5 separate regions of the Homo sapiens genome follow, and all the other regions are linked to region 2. The links are contacts of gene promoters, found by promoter capture Hi-C in blood cells and fetal thymus (Javierre and others, 2016). All regions are on one chromosome and are shown on one strand. Each heading gives the region's core, a stretch centred on a gene start or on the middle of the fragment in contact. The rest is flanking DNA. Distances are from core to core; before and after follow the strand shown. Region 1 overlaps NEK10 (NIMA related kinase 10). Region 2 holds the start of ZCWPW2 (zinc finger CW-type and PWWP domain containing 2). Region 3 overlaps NEK10 (NIMA related kinase 10). Region 4 overlaps NEK10 (NIMA related kinase 10). Region 5 overlaps NEK10 (NIMA related kinase 10).

Region 1 (4,149 bases), core at 1,313-3,812, 1.2 Mb after region 2:
ATGGAAGCAGCCATTTGAAAAAGAGCAAAATAATATATTCCTTCTGAATCGCAGGGTAAAAATTATAGCATCTAGTCATGCTATTTGCAGTAAAATTTAAATTCTTACATAGTCCTATTGAGTGAATATTGTTACATGGGCCCTCAGCGAATGCTTTTTGTAGTCAGCTGTGTAGTGTTAACAATTTGTTTATAATGATTGTTTTCTTATTTTATGCAGCTTCCTCCAGCTTTGCACCACAATTTGAAAAGAAGGGTTATAGAGAGATTCAAGAAATCCCTCTTCAGCCAGCAGAGTAACCCTTGTAATTTGAAATCTGAAATTAAAAAGGTATGGTATTCTATATATAGGAATTCTTTTGCTGACAAAACCACATCATAAGAGGTACATTTTATACCTCCTTTACTTCGTACTTTAAGCTCTATCCTCTATTAAAGTTTCTTATTGCTGCTTTACATACTAAATTGAGGATATGTCTTTGCTTCTGATTTTCTCTATTTCCGTGGCCCTTATTTTTAGATAACAAATGGATAGCTTTTTCAGTATTTTTGTATGTTTTCCTAAGAAAAAGTAATATTTAATTTGAAATGTGTATATTTTAGCCTCTTCTAGAGAATTATATTCTGATATTTTATTAGAATAATCTTCAATAAGCTCCAAAATTGAGATTTGTCACTCTGAAGAAGTCATTTAACCATCTGGGGCCATTGATTTTTTATTATCTATGAAAGCTGACTGAACTATTTCTAAGGTTCTTTCCATCTTAGATAGTCTACAATCTTCTAGACCTTAGATACTAGCAGACATTTCTGTCCATACATATAGCAACTAAACTACAAAAATACTAAATCAACTGGGCAGAAAGAAAATTGTTTACCTCTGGTTAACAAAACTTGATATTGGAAAATCCCTTTGTCCTGGTTGGTAGACCTTTCGATACAGCCCTGGAAGTGGCCATAAGCTCCCCTGAAAGGCCCAAGGTACAAGCAATTCAGGCCCACCTAGGTAAAGACAATTGGTAGCACTCCAATTTCATATTTTTTAAAAAGTTTCATCATATTTTTAAATGGGTAGCATAGTCATGCTGCCAGTGAACTTTTCCTTTAAGGTTTCACGTTCCTTTAATGCATCAAAGCTTCAGCATTAACTTACTCATTATTTAGAAAATATGATAGGCTCTTTGATAAGAAATGCAAACAACATTCTTTAGCTTTGTTGTTTCACATCACTGGTATCTGCACATACACCAAAAACAGATGGGGGAAAAAGACACAGCTGCAGGTAAACAAAACATAAAGCCTGCTCCATCAGAGATTAGAGAGCAAGGTTTCTTTCCTGGGTTGTGTTGGCAAATAGGGCCAAGAAACAAAGCTGAAGGAGATCAAAGCAGTAGAAGAGGCTTCAGATATTTATCTTATGATATTTATATATTGTATCATAATAAACACATTTTTAAAAGATAAAAGCTTAAATCTCCCATGAAAAGATAATATGTTGCTTGGTTTTTTATTCTTATTAAGGTCATATAACTCTTATTCTTATTTTATATTCTTATTAAGGTCAGAATAATCTGGTTTGAGCATAGACTTATTTTAACAGAAATCCTAGTTTTATGAGATGAAAGCATCTGCTACAAACTGTCTGAGACATAAAGGTGGCTTCAACTCCCACTGAGTGATTTTCCATCAGTGCTTCTCTTTATTTTCTCGTTTATTACTTATGTTTTTGGTGTTGCAACTCTTCCTCACTTTCTTTCCTCTCCTGATAGAGAAGATTTTGTTTGTTAAATTCTCCCACCCACTCCTTGTCTTCCTTCCTGTGTATTGTGGCAGCATCTCTCATTGGGCATTTACCTTCTGATACACCTCGTCTGGGAAAATAAAAACAGGAATTGGTAGGGTGGTAGGAGATGTTTGGGAAGCATGGGTGAGAGAACCCTCAGGAATAGACTCATCCTTATTATTAACTTGTTTAAGAGGCAGATTATACTCTCCTATAAAGACTGCCATGGTTCTCTTGTCTGATACTACAAGCCCATGGTGGTCTTTGGGACATCTTGTATGGACCTTTAGGTAGGGAAAGGCCCTATATATTGCTTTAGGGCTCATGATCAACAGAAGTGTGGTTCCATTCCTCTACAGGCAGCTTCAGGCTTGCGCCATCTCCCCATGAAGTTGGATGATACCTTCATGGGGGTGTATCCTCTTAGTCAGAGAGGCAGGCCTCCTGGGTGCTAAAGAAATCCTCAGCTTGGGATATTAAAACACTTCCTATTCTTTACCACCAAACTGAAAAAAATAGCTCTGACAAAAAAAAAAAACCTTTCTTAATTTTCCCTGTCCAGAATTAATCTTACCTTTCTCTATGGGTGAATCCACTTTTTCACCTGTATTATTGTGTTTTAAATAGCTTTTTATCTACCTTACATTCTGTTTCCCCCAAAGTTGGTGGGTGTGTCTTATTTATCTTTGATTCCCCAGGGCCTTGCACAGTGCCTGGCATGTGGTAGGTACTTAATGTTTAATAATTGGAGATAGGATATATAATACATTAATATATATTCTGTATAATATATAGTTGTTCCATTCTTTATTGGTATACTGATAAAATATATTCATATATGTAACTTTCCTGCCTTCATCTAAACTTAAATGAGAAGAGTTTGTGACCTCCATTTTTACCCCTTTTCTGGTATAATCTTTTGATAGCAACAACTTCTGTTCATAAATGGATTTTTCATTCCCTGTGTAACCATAGAGGAGTGGCCAATTAGCCTTTGACTGACACAGTCACCCCATACCAGGGCCATAGGAGCAGTAAGTGGTGACAGCCCGTAAATGCACTTGATTTCTACCTTTCTCACTGAAACTTCTAAAACCCACGGGCCCTGTGTCCCTAGTTTGAAGGAGCCATTATGGGATGACTGTGCCTACTTACTAATAGCCTAAGACCCAGAAGGATACAGAAGATTCAAAAAGTGCAAAAGGCCTTTTCTAAGACATTAAGCTCTTTATTTATACCTCACCTAAGTTAGTCTTCAATCCAGTCTGCTCAATCTTGGCTAGAATTGCGAGGGGAGTAAAGCAACCAAGTAATTGTATAGGTACCCTTGGGAACTAGGATTTTCAGCATGGAGGAAAGGGGAAACAGAAGCAAGATAGCAGAGATTCATCTAAATTGGAATTGGAAGTATCAGTGTGAATGAATATGAGTTCATGATAAATCTCATCTATTAAAAAATATACACATTTCCTAATATTTTCATTGAAATAGTCGAGAAACTAATCAAGCAGCAATGAGCTCCTCCACCCATGACTCCTTGGGGATATAGGTGATTTTGGTCTAGAGCAGGAACTGTACAAGATTAGACTGGAATATTTGGACATACAGATAGCATAGTAAGTATGGTGTCAAGGACTACTGAGAGTATATCAAAAGTTCTCAAGAGCCAAATTGAAGAGGCTCCCACTGGCTATTTATGGGATAATTGGAACATCAATAAGAATAATAAATTGAAAGCATTAAATAAGGTTTAAACCCAAGAGTTCATAATACCAAAAAAGAAAAAAAAAAATCCCTCATTGGTTACCTTTGGAAGATGCTAAGTAACCAGCTTATTATATTGAAAATTGTTTACATAGGAAAGAAGAAAGCTTTTATTCTGCCTTTCCTTTATGAATTCTATCGCATGTTAACAAAATCATTGAGAGGAAAAGTTTCTTATTGTAGAAGTACTTAAGCTAATAAGTGCCAAAGGGATAAAGAATATTCCTGTTTTGCAGTCCCTGTTTAAATGATAGCACCTAGATATGATCACCAATGGGCGTTAATGTCACAAGAAGGACAATCAGGCATTATATGCCACCTGATGGGAGTGTACAGCACTGTCTATGAAATATTCTTGCTAAAAGCTTGAATCTACATCTGATTAAGGCTGTAGATTAGAAGTCAGCAAATTACAGCCCTCAGGCCAATCATTTCTGATGCCTGTGTTTGTAAATAAAGTGTTGTTGGAACGCAACTGCAGAGGTTCACTTAATACTGTCTATGGCTGCTTTTGTTTACAGACAAAGTTGAATAGCAGTTACAGAGACCATATGGCCTGGAACGCCAAAAATATTTACTATCTGATCCTTTACGGGAAAAGTT
Region 2 (3,879 bases), core at 732-3,231:
ATTTATTTTATTTGAGAAAGTTAATTGAAGCAGATACAGGGTGGAAAGTGACCATTTGCAGCTAAATCCAATGACTATACGGATTATATTTTGTCATAATCTAGCAGGGGTTCTACAACCCAAAAAGAAAAACTAAGATGTTTTACTTGACTAAAATAATAAAATTTGTACATCCTGGTTAAGCAAATACATTTCTTAATAAACCCATTATATGTTAATAAACCCACTGTGTAGTGTGCACTGTGAAACAAAAATTGACTCTCTCACCAGATAAACTTCAAAATACTGATTTATGACATTTTATCTTTACTTACTCAGAAAGAAAAGATAAAAATGATGTCCCCTGCCTTTTCAACAATTCTTAAATTATTTTAAATTGTGAACGAAGATTCAAAAATATTTCTACACCTTCAAATTAAAAACCAGGTTACCACTTTATTTCTAATAACTTGTGATGCCTCAACCAATTTTGCTAGCATTCTTCAAAACTCTACTTGTAAAAACATACACCTAATGGTTGTTTTAAATTGAAAATTCTCAAAATGCATCATGGAAGCAATAAAAAAATTTAAGGACTGATACTTGCTCAAAATATTAAAAACACTGCTCTCTTCCATTCTCCAGCCCAGTAAATTGAAGCAAATCGTTTCCTTTCTCAACGATAACATTAACACAGATTTCTAAGTATTTTTAGAAATGTCATAAAACTTCAACTTGTGGTCTTTGTTCCTAACAGCTATAAATTTTCACTTAAATCTAAACCAAAAAAGACAATAAAAAAACCAACAACAATAAAAACGAATTTTCATATAAACCCTTGAGTGAAATCCATCCTATTGGGCTGACAGTTGGGCTGATAGTTAAGCGGACAGATGACAAAATACTACTTTAAGGGGGTGGTGAGTAATGTCCGTATTGCTAATCGGCGGTTAGTGACGTTAAATTTTCTATAATTATTGTTCCTTGTTTATTTGTTTATTTAACCAATAATACCTTAGAGTTACAGGGGTTCCACCTGGCTGCGACCTTCAATGACTAATTAATTCAACTACTTGTGACTCCACAGCTAGGGACGGTCTATCATCTAGAAATAACCAAGGTGGTGGCAACTCCAGGGAAGCCGGGCGCAACTCCAGTACTCTGGCATCTTCTCCCTGTCTCTCATTCCATAAATTGAGCAGTGTGCTAGAAGTCGTGGTGTCGTTTGTGAATAATTACAGACCCCTACGCAATTCGTCGAGCTTGTGCCTCAAGTGATCGCCTGAGGGCTTGCAAGTAGTTTAGAAAACAGAGGCTACAGAGGAACGGCTTCTAACAGACTTCCCAGTTCCCAGCCACGTCAGCTCGTAAGCCTGTAACAGCGCTACTGAGCCGAGCCAGCACGCACCACACGGCCCGGGGACCCCCCAAAAGGACACTGAGTGAAAAAGACGCACCAGAGGGCGCCCCTGAAGGGGGACCTCGGCCCAACAGACAAGACGGCTGGTAACGCTCTTACCTAACTCCACTCCGCCTCCGCCTCCTGGCGTCCCGCGGCCCCGCCCCGTCCCGCCGCGGAGGCTCACGGGACATGTAGTACGCCGCGCGCCACTCCTGCACTTCCCCACCCCCACGACCGAACCTGGCTTCGCTAACGCCCTCCCAGCTCCCTCGGGCCTGACTTCCGGTTTCCTCGCGCGTCCCTGGCGCCGAGCCCGCGGACAGCGGCAGCCCCTTTTCCGGCTGAGAGCTCATCCACACTTCCAATCACTTTCCGGAGTGCTTCCCCTCCCTCCGGCCCGTGCTGGTCCCGACGGCGGGCCTGGGTCTCGCGCGCGTATTGCTGGGTAACGGGCCTTCTCTCGCGTCGGCCCGGCCCCTCCTGCCTCGGCTCGTCCCTCCTTCCAGAACGTCCCGGGCTCCTGCCGAGTCAGAAGAAATGGGACTCCCTCCGCGACGTGCCCGGAGCAGCTCCCTTCGCTGTGGAAGCGGCGGTGTCTTCGAAGAAACCGGAAGCCCGTGGTGACCCCTGGCGACCCGGTTTGTTTTCGGTCCGTTTCCAAACACTAAGGAATCGAAACTCGGCGGCCTTGGGGGCGGCCCTACGTAGCCTGGCTTCTGGGTGAGTGACTCGCCAGGGACGGGTGGAGGATAGGGATGCGGGCAATGCCGCGGCCAACCTCCGTAGCTGTTGCCGGTCCAAAAAGACACGTCATTTTTTTCTCACTCCCTCCCGCGCCCCCTCCTTTGACTAGGGAGCGGCCCACTCCTGGGCATCCCTTTCCCCAGTCACCCCCACACCCAGCTGTCCACACCCTTTCCCCTGTCACCCTCACCCCCAGCTGTCCAGGCCCTTCTTGGTCATTCACTTCTCTAATTACTCCTTTTCTTTTCGTACTCTTACTGGGGCGCCTTCAGTTTTTTTTCATTCATTGAGACTGCTAAATGCTTCTTTCCGATACAAATTATCGGAAAGAAAAGAGGGACATTGGCTAGGACGGTACTCCCTGGGGCATCTGAGTGGTGAATATCGACCCCCTGCACTTGATCGAGGGCTAACAGGTATTCGTCGTTTCTCCAATGTCTAACCTGTATACGGTATTCATTCCAGCCTTCGGCTGTTTGTTGAGTAACTACTACTACGTGCAAGGTAGGCTGACACCCTCTACACAAAAGAAACCCCAATACTCGAAAGCGAGATAAAATACCCACGAAAACTCTAGTACAAATCAAACCATCAGTTGCTCCAAGAGGTGATGGAAATTTGCTAAGGTGATCAAAGACAGACGTACCAGAATTAAAATTGACCCTTGCGCCTTATGTGTAGAAGACATTTTGGTTTTTAGATTGGAATTTCAAATTGGATTGAGCAAGATCTCAAGGCAGAATTTCATTTCTCTAAAAACGCCATATCTCATTGCCCAATCTTGTGATCATTTCATCATCTGTAAATTGAGAACAGTGCATCCTTTACAGGATATTTCCAAATTTTAATGTGATATTGTTTGTAAGCCAGACATCTTACGCAAGTAGAAGGTTTTAATATTAAAGAGACAGCATAACATAATGGGAAATGACACTGGATTAGGTCAGAACACCAGTATCTGAATGCTGATTTTTCCATTTACTTGACAATGGGTAAGAGGCTAAACTTTTTCTTCATTTTCCTTATCTCTGAAATGGGTGTAATACATACTCTAAGGCACCAAAGCATAGTTTCTAAGAGTTATGCTGGCTCTGGAGTCAGCTGCCTGATTTTCATTTCTGGCTCCCCTACTTTCTAATGTTTTCATGTCTCAATTTCTCCACCTGTAATCTGAGGAGATTCTTTACAACCTCAGAGGTATTACATAGATTTACTGAATGCTTATGAAGAACAAATGAGATAGTTTCTCCAAAAGGTGAAGCACACTGCTTGGTATACCATAAACGCTTGGCTACTATTAATTACCAATGCAGAACCTTGTCATTATTATTAAGTAAAATGCTGAAGTTTTTTTTATAATCCATGAAGTAATAGAACCAATCTTTTTCTTTTTTATGGCACTTATATTCAGAGTGCAAGTATAGTTGCCTTATCACTGTTAGAAAATAATTTTCAATAACACCAGTAACATTGAATGTATAGTAGATGCTTAGTTGCATTAGAGGTATTACTGTATGAAAGGGATGAAAAGAAGTAGACTGCTCTTCATACCTATGCTAACTCTGGAAGAGTCTTGATCTGTGCAATACAAACTGATTTCTGGACTAACGCAGTTTGTTGGATAACTCAAGAGTCATAAAAATGGAACTGGAGTTTTTCTTCATATTGTATATCTAATGTTGAGTACATTTTTGGACATTTATTGAATTACAGGGCTTTTTATTGCTAATGTACACAGATTAAGAGATGATGTT
Region 3 (3,998 bases), core at 1,428-3,927, 1.0 Mb after region 2:
TAACCGTGGGTGTCCTGGAACTCCTGAGGATACCAAGGGATGACTATATATACCAAAAAAGTCATGAAATTATAGAGGTAGAATGGACTCTGAAGAAAACCTTCTTAAGCCTCATTTGATAGATGTGGGAGATGAGCAGGTAAGGTCCAAGGTCCTGAGACAAAGCCATGGCTGGTACTCTTTTCTCTAATGCCTCACGGATTCCCTTGTTCTTTACTAATCAATGCACATTTAAAATTTGTTTTAGGTGTGCACCAGGGAAAAGTATCACTTTGGTAACCAGACTTACTGCTTCTTGTGTAGCTCATTCACTTGGCTGTCAATAGGCATGAAGTGAAAATGTTCCTACCTTCCCAGGAAAGAACTGGTTGTTCCTTGGCTACAGGTAACCACCAGAACCAGTTTTAAACCTGGCCAAATCAATAAATGACAGTTTCTCATGAGTACATAAGTTTCTGAGAGCCAGGAAGTAACTGACAGTCACATCCTGGGAGCCGCATTTCCACAGCTAAAAATCAACCAATCCCCAAACAGCCTTGTGAAACCTGGCCTTTCCTAAATTTTCCTATCCACTTAGCTCCAAGAAATGGGGCCTTCTAAGTACACTCTCTGTATTAGTCTGTTTTCACGTCGCTAATAAAGACATACTCAAGACTGGGTAATTTATACAGGAAAAAAGTTTAATGGACTTACATTTCCATGTGGCTGGGGAGGCCTCACAATCATGGCAGAAGGCAAGGAGGAGCAATTCATGTCTTACATGGATGGCAGCAGGCAAAAAGAGCTTGTGCAGGGAAACTCCCATTTTTAAAACCATGAGATCTCATGAGACTCATTCACTATCACAAGAACAGCACAGGAAAGACCTGCCCCCATGATTAAATACCTCCCACCAGGTCCCTCCCACAACATGTGGGAATTCAAGATGAGATTTGGGTGGGGACACAGCCAATCCATATCACTCTCCTTTGCTGTAAATTCATCTTTTGTTATACATATTGATTTGTGGGCTCTTCCTTCTTTAAGCATCTCAAAGTTAACATGTTTAAAACAGTACTTTTGAGTTTTCTCACTCAATGTGTGAGAATGCCTCAGTTTTAGTCTTCCCCATCAGCTAGTCCAAACCCCCATCATCTCTTGCTTGGACTATTGCAGTAGGCTAACAGGGCTCCCTGCTTTTGATGCTTGGCTCTTTATACTCTGTTCTCAACGTTGAATTTAGAAGGATTTTTTCAAGATCTCCTTCAGATTATGTCAATCCTCTCCCCAGAGCCTTCCAGTGACTTCCCTGGATAAAAAATCCAAAGGCCCTGTTCTTATTTTACAAGGCCGTTAAAGCTCTGGCTTCTCCTGTCTCTCTCACCCCAATCCCTATTGCTCTATCTTTGCTCACTCTGCTCCAGCCCCACTGGCTTCCTTGCTATTCTTTGCAGTTTACAGTATTCCTGCCTCAGGGACTATGTATTTAACTACTCTGCTGTTCTGACCTAGACATCCATATGGATCAATCCCTCAAATAACTCAGATGCTAATCTTATCAAAGAACTGTTCTGTGACTGTCCTAAAATAGCATGCCCAGTACTCATTAAATCCTTAACCTTGATTATTCTCCACTGGCCACCACCTGATATGCATTTTTATTTGTTTTTGTGATCAGAATGTAAGCTCCATGAGTACAAGTGCATGGGTTTTTCCTCTGCTGTACTCCTGGGCTTATAACAGTACTTGGCTGATCACAGGTGATGAGTATATACTAAATATTTGAAAATATTCTGAAATTTTCATTAATTATGTAGAAGAAATACCTCTAAGAATGCATTTATATCCTGATTTTAGGGGCCAACATGATCCATTTGATGGGTTTCTGATTGGGTGTACATTTCATGCTAGATTTAGTAGGGGACACAGAGAAAGAACAAAGACCTGTTAAGAATAGCAAAATAAGTCAGTGAGAATTCCCTAAATAATCATTTAGGATGAATTTCTTCACATATATTCTTGTTTTTTTTTTTTTAAGTTTTGCATAGATGTGAATTTTACTTTTTCAGCTATCCAAAAAAATTGGACTCTGTCTTATGAATTTGAGGTGATATGTGTTTTGAAATAGGCTTGAATTCCTCTGTTTTTAATGAGTCAAAGATGGCAGGTTGTTTTGGTTTGTCTTGTGGTTAATGAAAACTACTACAACATGAAAAGGGCTGTGACATGAAAAAGACAGAGTGTGCTACAAATACAGTCAACATTGTCACTTCTGCCATTTGCATCAGTTCCTGGGTTCAGTTAACCCTGCTTCATTATAATAGCACAGCTTCGTGGACTGACTTTTTACTTGGAACCCTCACATCACATATTTGTTTCTCTTACTGTGTAAGAAGTTGAAACCCTGGCTACTCTTTCCCTTTTCAAATAATGTGTCTCCGGTGCTTTTCCTTCATTTTATATTGATGGCAGAAGATGGCACCTGATGCTGACAGCAGAATGGCAGGTGGTCACGGACAGGGGTGGCAGGAGCTGATCACGCTGCCATGTATTAATAGTCCTGTGAAAACAGTGGCATAAGTTCAGTCATAAGAGGGGACAAATATTTGCCCGCTCATGAATTTGCTTCTGTGTGGCTGCTATATTGAGACATGGCCTCTAGAGAAATACTATCTTTGCAGACAGGTTTCTCAGGGCTGCCCCCATGCCACTCTGCTGAATGCTACTGTTCCCATATTAAACATATCTGCAGAGTCACTTTCTCTTCAGCCATCCCTGTATAGACTTAGGTGGAGGGGAGGGATGGCAAGAGCACTGGAATGGGAGTCTGGCACCTGGCTCTATTACTTATTGTGTAGCTGTGGGCCAGACACTCAGCTCCTCCAGGCCACAATTGCTGAGTCAGTAAAATAAAGGTGCCTGTCTTTACAATCTGTCACTATTATTCACTGTAATTCTCCAGTTGCACTAAGCTGTGTGTTTCCTAGTCCCTCAGCTGGTGGCAAACAGATGTATGTATATATGTGTATATGTGTGTATAGTCTTGAAGAGCATGCAATTCTCCTTGAACACCAGCACTTCATCCCATGTGCTCCGTCCTTGCAGTGGGTTAAGGGCTGAGAGCCAAGGAAGGAACAACTGCTCTTTCAGAGGTCAGCGCAAAGAGATGAGAAGCCAGAGGACTCAGACACCAGGAATTCTATTTACATTTACAGCAGCAGAGGCCGCGTAGAAATATTAATAGCTTTGGGCTTCAGTTCCCAAATTGCAAAACAAAACAAAACAAAAATTCCATTTGGTTGGAACAGAAATTTCAACTCTGAGATTTTTCTGGAACTCTTCATTTATATACACTTCTTTATTAGTTAAAAAAAACTATTCTGGAATTTTTGTTCTTTTCTTTTTCCTGGGAGGTGGGAAGGAAACAAACTTTTTATATTTATATTAATATGAAAAATCACTGGAAAAGTCATGAAATTTCCTCATGATGATTGTATATGGCTAACAGTAAAAAATACCAACTGTACACATATTTGTAGCGTGAATCATCTCTTAAAATGCCCCATGGCTTTTCCTTTAAATAATGAAAAGTAATTAGCATTCAACATCACTAGGTTGCTAGCAGCTGTTGCAACCTGATCATTACTTCTGTTAGATCTTTGGGATGTAGTATCTTTGCCCTATAATTCAGGCTACATGCTGCCTTTAGCTAACCCAGCACCTGAAAGAGAAACTTGTCATGTGCCCTCTTCCTAATTATAAAGATTAAAGATATCCTCTCTGTATTAGGAGCTTTAGAATAACCATATTTTTAGTAAGTGCCCCCATAGATGATCATTTTGAGTTCAAAATGTATTTCAAATTTGGTTTATTTTTCCCAATGCAGGGTATGTCTGATCTGAAGTCAGGATGAACCCATAGTACATCCTGGATGTGGCCTTGGATAATTCTGCCTGGCTGGCAGTTTTGGGATTGGTTGAATCCTGACTCTATTTTCAGAGGAAACTGGGCTTTGTCCC
Region 4 (3,941 bases), core at 1,109-3,608, 1.0 Mb after region 2:
AAGATGAATAAGTTATAAATATGTAGTGTAGAAGAGGGTCAAACAGTGCTATAACTGATACGGTAGACAGATGCACAGGGTACTCTGGGAACATGGAGCAGAGACTTCCCAATTAGAATGTGGAGTCATGCAAAGTTTCCTGGAGGAAAGAGAAGATATCTAGGCAGAGAGAGAGAGACAACATAAAAACAGTATGTGCTTGGACATGGAGGCATGAAATTGGGTGTGTTAGAGGAATGTGATGGTTGGGCACAGCAGGACCATAAGAACAAAAGTGCCAGAGAACTAGAACAGATAGTTAATGATAAATTTAAAATGTAGCTAACTTTGATCAGTGTTTTCTATATGCCAAGACCTGCTCTAAGCACTTTGCTTATTAACTCATGTGATCTGCACATTAACCCTATTTTTCCCGTATTTTATAGATAAGGCAACAAGACACCTTTATCCAGGTCATGATGGTCTCTGATAAATAACGATGTGAATTTTATCATGAACATTATGGGGACTCATGGGAACATTTTAAGCATGATCAAATTTGTTTTTTGAAAGATCACTTTGATAGCAGTGTATGTGGGAGTGAGGTGGGGGTGTTTGTTTATATCCACACATTGAGATCCACTTACAACAAAGAGAGGCTGGGAAAGTTCGTGAAGGTAAAGAATACTATTTATCAAGGAACATTTATTATTAATGTCAGAGCACAAAATTTGGGAGGGAGAGGAGCCATAGGTAATCAGCTCAGGGGAAAGGAATGAGAAAGCCGTATGAGAATGAGAATATTGGAGAGGTAGATGAAAGAGGGATTTATATCTTGAGCATGACAAAGGATTACAAGGATGGGAGGAGCAGTGGGGTTACCTAGCTGCCTGGTGTTCAAAAGAATCCCAACGTTGCCCAGGAAATAGAAAACACTAAGAGCTCTTGATTGACAGTGGAGGAGTGTGAAAAGAGGAGTATGTGTCTTGATGACTCCCAGTCTTGTGGCTTGGAAGACTGAAAATATTGTGGTGCCATGAGTCAAGATCGGGGATATAAGGTGAAGAATAGACCTGGGGAGGAGGCTAATGACTTTGAGTTTAGGGGTAGTATGGAGAGTACTTGTGGAATATCCATGTGGCTAAAACTTCTGGAAGTTAGGAGCAATGCCTGGGCTGAGATCATGATGACAGGGTTGAAAGAGTGTTTGAAATCATGGGAATGGATGACACCATCCAGGAGGGGAGTGTTTAGAGTATGAAACTGGAGGACTAAGGATGATTCTATAAAACGTTTATCATCATAATATTTCATGGCACAGCTGAACCTTGTGTCTTTACCATCAATTTAATGCACTTTGCACTGAGTATATAGTAACTGAGTGCTTTGCCCTTAACTTACCTGCATTGTAGTGTTTTTGACATTTTCTAAGAATGTCTTATTTTGCAATTACATAGTAAGTTTCTGAAGACTAGAATAAGGCTTTTATTATTATTATTTTTTTTTTTTTTTTAGTCTTTAGCACAATGCAGATGTCATTGTTTGTCCTTGATACCTATTTGCTGGTCAGTAGGTTTGTTTTTTGTTTTTGTTTTTGTTTTTTAAACAGAGTCTCGCTCTGTCACCCAGGCTGGAGTGCAGTGGCAAGTGACCTCGGCTCACTGCAACCTCTGCCTCCTGGGTTCAAGCAATTCTTCTGCCTCAGCCTCCCAAGTGGCTGGGATTACAGGCACACACCACCACGCCCTGCCAATGCTGGTCAGTAGGTTTTTAATCAGACCAACGATGATGCAACGAGCCTATAATTTAGAACAGTGGTCTGCAAACTATGACCTACAGTCTAAGTTTATTCCACTGCTTATTTTTGTAAATAAAGATTTATTTTAACATAGGGATGCGAATTTATTTTTATATGTTGTCTATGGCTGCTTTCATGCTATCTCAGCATAGCTGAGTAGTTGTGACACAGATTGTACAGTTAGTAAAGCTAAAAGTGTTTGGCTTTGATCGGGCTCCTTACAGAAAATGGCACATTGACCCATGACTTACAAAATGTTAGGGTTATATTTCATGCACTGATGATAGCTTTAGTCTTAATGTAAAGTAATCAACTCATGATGCTGTGATTCTCACCCCACCCTCTGTACCCCTTTCAGACTAACAGCGGAGTTGCTGCGCCTACTTTGTGCAGAGCCCCAGGTGAAAGAGCAGGTGAAGCTCTATGAGGGGATACCGGTCCTCCTCAGTCTGCTCCACTCTGACCACTTGAAGCTCCTCTGGAGCATTGTCTGGATTCTGGTACAGGTTTGTGAGGACCCTGAGACCAGCGTGGAAATTCGCATTTGGGGAGGCATCAAACAGCTTCTTCATATTTTACAAGGGTGAGTAAAAGTGGGCTTTGGCCTACTTTGCCCTGTTTGTTGAAGTCTGGGGACTCTGTGACAAGATGGCAGATTGGTGTGTGTCACCTCATTCCCTCCTGCTTTGGGATTTCTTTGGTAATTCATGCTTTCCAAAGTCATCTAGACTTGTCACAAGCATGTTCTAAATCAATGTCAGGGGCATTCATCTTTTAAATTCCTTGGGGACCCAGATATATTTATCTTTGCATCACCAACCTCCAGTACAGTGCTGGGAATGTAGAAGGCCATCAATCTGCAAATATAATGAAGGCTGAATGGAAATCCAGTAACCTAAAAAAAACCTTTGTCTTGCCACCTTTTCCTTGAATTAGTATATGCATTTTGTCATTCCAAGTATAATGATTACTAATATTTTCCTAAAATGTTTGTGTGTGCACATATGTTATTATCTATAAAGAGAAAACAAAGCCTATATGAAAGGAGCAGGTGTACAATCCTTGTTTTTGAAAGATGATATCATTAATCAAGTGGTTGCCATGTTACTAACTCTAGTCCAGTTCTCTACTTTTCTCTCTAATCTTCATTACGGTCCTCTAAGGTGGGCATTATCTCTCTTTTAAAAGTAGAATTCCAGTGACATTCTAAGTCAGGAGCACGGAGAATGGATAGTTTTGTTCCCAATTGAAATTCTCTAGAAGTACGTTGCAAACTAACTTCTGTATTTTCTGAATTAAATAGATTGAAGTATTTAATAATAATATCTTGTGGTACCATCCATGGGAAGATTCTATTACCTAATATTGTTATAAAGTATAATTCAGTTCTATGGGTGCTGAACCAAAGTTAAAAATGAGTATGCCTCCTTGAACTGGATCGTCTTTATGATCTGCAGTACATAAATAAAGCTCATTCTAATAAAAGCAGAGGGACTTATCAATTTTCATATAACTAGATATTATCAAATCAATGTTGTTATGACTTTGTATTTGTTATGCTTCCAGCGATATTGCAGAACTGTGTGTTACCAACTTCATTTTCTCTTAAGGAACATTCAGAAGCATAAGAATAGACTGTACAGACATGAACAGTAGCTTTGTTAACAATATTTGTCATTACCTAAACAAAGGAAAAATTTATAGACTGTTGACAACCCACTTGCTTCATGAATGTGACATAAAAATATCAATTACTTTATAGTATAAATTATAAGTCATTCATTAGTGCTGTGACATAATAAGCCAGCCCCTTGGTCAAAATAATTACAATTGCCAAAGGTTTTTTATTTAGGTTTGTAGGATGACGATGGTAATGATGATCATGGTGGTGGTTATTCTTTATTATTGGACAATCATACCTATTATAATAGGTATGGGTTGCCCTCTTGGAGAACAGCTATTTTCATAAGGATAAAATGAAATTCTGTAATAGTTAAGCAGAATTTCAAAGACAAAACCTGCCTTTTTCTCATATAGAATTGAATCTAGCTTTCTTCTTTTGCTGAAGTCATAACTATCCTTGGTAAAAAAGAGGTCTTTCACATCTAAAGTATCATTTTCCAGTCCATTTTGATGGTGCAATGTTAGCAAACTTTTCCCCAGG
Region 5 (4,033 bases), core at 793-3,292, 1.2 Mb after region 2:
TATCATTTCTGCCTTTTGATTGAAAGTAAGAGACATGTGACTCTTTTTTCCACTTGAACAATTAGAGGCCATTGTAGGATTATTAACTGGCTTAATCTCAGTATTGTTGTGTCTCAGGGAATAGGAAGGCCTATGAAGAAGGGAAAGATGGGGGAATGGCTGGTTGATGGAACAGTCAGAGTACACACAACATCCATCCATTAAGTTTACTATCTTATATGAGTGCAGTTTGTGGTGCCCCAAAACAATTACAATAGTGACATGCAGGATCCGTCATCACAGATCATCACAACAGATCTAATAATGAAAATGTTTGAAATATTGCAAGAATTACCAAAATGTGACACAGAGGCATGAAGTAAATGCATGCTACTAGAAAAATGGTGCCAGTAGCCTTGCTCAATGCAGAATTGACACAAAACTTAAATTTGTAAAAAAATTTAAAAAAAGCAACATCTTTGAAGTGCAATATAATAAGGTGCAATGAAATGAGGTATACTTGTAAATACCTTGGAGTATTTCCTCTGAGATCAGGCCCTTGAAAACTATTTATTGAGTAACTGATTTAGACCCATCACTGTATAAACTCTTGTTTATCTTTGCTATTGTATTGAGAGCAACTGCATAAGTAATCAGAAGCAGTGAGGGAATCACTGATTTTTTTGTATTAGACTTTTAAAATATTTTATTTTTATTAAATTTATTTTATTATATTAAAATATATACATATATATTTTAGATTTCAGATTGAGATAAGAAATTTCCTTTACCAATGATTATTTGCTTCCTCATTCTTCATGCCAAGGGAGGTGCCAAACGACTGTGTACAGGGTCCCAGGAGGATGCTTCTTGGAGATGTAGATTTTTTTCATGGTCATTTTAGGGTAATGTGTTTTCAAATGGATACTCATCTCACAAGAGTTACTGGTGGTTCCAATTCAAGCCTAAATCCAAATTGCATATCACCTGTTAAATGGCAACTCACACTCATGCCATTTGGGTTTCTGCCTGGGAGGAAAGGCTAAAGGAAGTAAGGGTTGAAAGGTATCCCACTCTCTGGTAGGAGTAAAGGGAGGTAGGTCAGCATGACTTGGGTGATGATTGTAGCATGGTGTGTAAAATAATTGAATTAACAGCGAAAAGCATCACCCTCAAATTCCAAATTGCCATTATTAGTAATTTATAGTGGATTTTAAAAATATGTTAAAAGTATTTACAAATATGCTTTGAATTAGTTTGTTGCATTGACCAATTTGAGAATTGAGGACAGTGACAGAAGGGCCAATTATAAGAAGAAGAAACCTGGATATCAAAGACCTTAGGTTCATGTGGAGTCTGTTGCACATGAGCCATACCATTTTGGACATACATATGGACATCTAATCAAATTATTCCTGTGTAGAAATGTAAGCACCAGTAGCTAAGAATCTATCCATGTGTTGGCTCCTGTCTGGGGAGTAGTTTTTTTAAGGATCTCAGAGTACATTTAAACCATAAGGGAGTATTAATCATTGAATCAGTCATTAAGCTTCTATTAATTCCCTTTCTTCAAGAAAAATGTTGATACAACTAAGGCTGTGTCCAAACCATTCTATAATGGTTGCTACAGCAGTTCCCTCTCCTGAAAGCAAGAGGCCTCTTTCTTCTCTCTGGGATACCTGCCTGCCCTCCACTATAGCTGGAACCTTGTTCATTCTTAATTGACTCTGCTCAGTATGGATTCAATAATTTATTTGGGATGTTTCATATAGTGTGTCAATTAAAAATTTTTCTGTTTATATAACTACTTATTATTTTTTATATTGGGGTGCAAAAGCACAATTCTTAAAGTTGTTCTTTGGCAAGTGTCTGAGTTTTATTCAATGCATTGATGATAGAACCAGGTGGAAGACAAAAATGCTGATTCAAGAGCATTTGAAGAACAGAGATTTATGTAGTTAGGCAAGAAAGAAGGGCTGACATAAGATTGCTAAATTAAGCGTAAGACTGGTAGAACTTCTATAGGGCAATAAAATGATACCATTTTTGTGATCAAGTTCTTGACTGGGTGTAAAATCATACCAGTATATTAATTTCTGCAGGTTAACCTCTAACGCTACAGGCCTGTAAACTGTCTGCTCCTTTATTGGTGTAGATTGTTAGTTAAATATACTGTGACATTACCCATTATGGGAATATAAGACACATTACTTAAAAGAGGCTCAGCCAGAATTCAAGAGTTAAGGACTTCAAAGCAGCCTTGCCTCTGGCCTTTAAACAGCTTATTCCTGAAGTTTCAAATGAAAGGAAGTTTGTTGCCTGATCACCCAGAGGTGAAAGGAGCTGATGCTTTGACTCAGCTTCCTGCCATTCTGTGAGAAACTCTGCCGGAGGCTAGGGTAGCAGGGGCATCTAGGCCTAGACTGCCAAGCTCCTTCCAAACACTTTTTGTCTGATTATAGAATGGTCTACTGGTCTGTGTTGGGAAGTTTCCATTGTCCATGCATCATATCCTCTGTCACTTCCCTCTCTCTTCTGATGGAACATCATATTCTCAGTGTCTCAGTCCCAAGCTTCAGCAGTCCTTGGCTCCTGCTCCCCATGTGGAAACAGCTACAGTGCACTGTAGATTGATTCACCCCACAACGTGTATGACCTCAGCCCCCTTGGTTCTAGTCCCATTTTTACCATTCTGCCATTTCATATGAAGAAACTAAGGCCCAAAGAAGTTGTGACTTTCTGAAAACCATATTGCAATGCAAGCCAGGCCTCTGACTTCAACTGTATGATCCTCTTCCCGTGAGATCACCTTTCCTGAAATACAGTCAGCCTTATTGTTTCTCACCATCGTGTATGGTCCCTGGCTACCTCTCCAGCTGTATACATACTGTACTTTTTTTATTGTACTGCACACCAGCTAAACTGAACAGTTTGCTGTTCTTCAGTTGCAGCCCTCACTTAGCTGACTTCACTCTTTGCTGGAATTATTCCTTCTCCTAAGAACCCACACTCACATACAACTTCCCTCACACCCAATACATTTCCTGTGCTATCGAAGACCTTCTAATTCTTCCTGGTCTTCTCAAATTAACATTTGAATTTGCTCTTTAGCCTACATCCATGGTTGTCTGGGTGAACCTTCTATGAAATCCTTATGAGTTCAAGATTCTTCATCTAACCAGGGACACAGGGATTGATTGCTGAACACTTACAGATTTGAACTACAATTACGTTACTTTATTTCATTGTTATGATAGTAAAGAGGTGAGAGTAAATTTGTATTGTAGTTTGACAACACTGTTGGTCCAATATAGAGAAGCTCATGTGTGTTTTGGCCCCCCATTCATGAAAACAATATATTTTTTGCTTCTTCATGGATTTCCTTCCTTAACCCTTTTTTTCTCCAGTTGTCCAAAAGTTCCTGATCCTTAGCTGAGAGAATTCAGAAAAATAATGCATTGATACCATATTTTGATCAATTGGGAGAGTACAGTGTAACCCACTTTTTTGGGTTTAATTTGTAGTTATTAACAGCTTCAAAGTGTATATTGTGAATTATAGTTTCAATAGAATGGACATATAGTATGTGTCAAGTGTCAAGTGTCAAAGCACCAGGGATGGGCAACTAACTTGGCTATTTTATTATGCAATGATATACTAAAGCAGAATGTAGTGCACAGCACTAGCTGTAAAGACCTAATGCTTCCAGCTTATTATGTCTACATGCTTTCCAAAAATAATTAATTAAATGTTGAGAGAGATAGATAGAACATCGTGTTAAAAGTAGCAGTCCTTTTAAGAAGAGAAATAATATTTCATTATGGGAAGGAGATATTGTTTTGTATTTGCAGTAACCAGAGGCGCCTTCTAGCTGTGTCCTTGCATGGTAGAAGGGGGTGACCACCTCCCTCTGGCCTCTTTTATAATGGCACTGATTCCATTCATGAGGCCTCCGCCCTTAGGACCTAATCACCTCCCAAGCTCACTTCCTCCAAATGCCATTGCCTTGGGGATTAGGATTTCAACCTGTGAATTTTGGTGGTTCAGAAGCATT

The links. The method cuts DNA at HindIII sites, captures the fragments that hold promoters and counts their contacts. A CHiCAGO score of 5 or more calls a contact.
Region 1: a fragment that was not itself captured here is called in contact with the fragment with the promoter of ZCWPW2 in region 2 in 1 of 17 cell types (total B cells); the score reaches 5.1 in total B cells.
Region 3: a fragment that was not itself captured here is called in contact with the fragment with the promoter of ZCWPW2 in region 2 in 1 of 17 cell types (naive CD8 T cells); the score reaches 6.2 in naive CD8 T cells.
Region 4: a fragment that was not itself captured here is called in contact with the fragment with the promoter of ZCWPW2 in region 2 in 8 of 17 cell types (total CD8 T cells, naive CD8 T cells, total CD4 T cells and 5 more); the score reaches 8.7 in total CD8 T cells.
Region 5: a fragment that was not itself captured here is called in contact with the fragment with the promoter of ZCWPW2 in region 2 in 1 of 17 cell types (total B cells); the score reaches 6.9 in total B cells.

Annotation. Positions count from the first base shown.
Region 1 is chr3:27,128,061-27,132,209 of GRCh38, reverse strand. It overlaps NEK10 (NIMA related kinase 10), which reads left to right. Exons shown (of 36, transcript NM_001394966.1): 32 at 220-330. Among named protein-coding and RNA genes, the nearest start is that of NEK10, 240 kb to the left of the region's middle. The HindIII fragment of the contact is 2,187 bases long and covers 1,469-3,655 here.
Region 2 is chr3:28,346,823-28,350,701 of GRCh38, reverse strand. ZCWPW2 (zinc finger CW-type and PWWP domain containing 2) reads right to left here and starts at 1,981. Exons shown (of 10, transcript NM_001040432.4): 1 at 1,499-1,981. AZI2 (5-azacytidine induced 2) reads left to right here and starts at 1,878. Exons shown (of 8, transcript NM_022461.5): 1 at 1,878-2,101. RefSeq lists enhancers at 1,272-1,351, 1,390-1,684, 784-1,764, 1,952-2,011. The HindIII fragment of the contact is 7,230 bases long and covers 1-3,879 here.
Region 3 is chr3:27,325,951-27,329,948 of GRCh38, reverse strand. The region is part of intron 5 of NEK10 (NIMA related kinase 10); the gene reads left to right. Among named protein-coding and RNA genes, the nearest start is that of NEK10, 41 kb to the left of the region's middle. The HindIII fragment of the contact is 6,077 bases long and covers 1-3,998 here.
Region 4 is chr3:27,303,166-27,307,106 of GRCh38, reverse strand. NEK10 (NIMA related kinase 10) reads left to right here. Exons shown (of 36, transcript NM_001394966.1): 12 at 2,136-2,360. Among named protein-coding and RNA genes, the nearest start is that of NEK10, 64 kb to the left of the region's middle. The HindIII fragment of the contact is 4,760 bases long and covers 1-3,941 here.
Region 5 is chr3:27,145,777-27,149,809 of GRCh38, reverse strand. The region is part of intron 30 of NEK10 (NIMA related kinase 10); the gene reads left to right. Among named protein-coding and RNA genes, the nearest start is that of NEK10, 220 kb to the left of the region's middle. The HindIII fragment of the contact is 1,024 bases long and covers 1,531-2,554 here.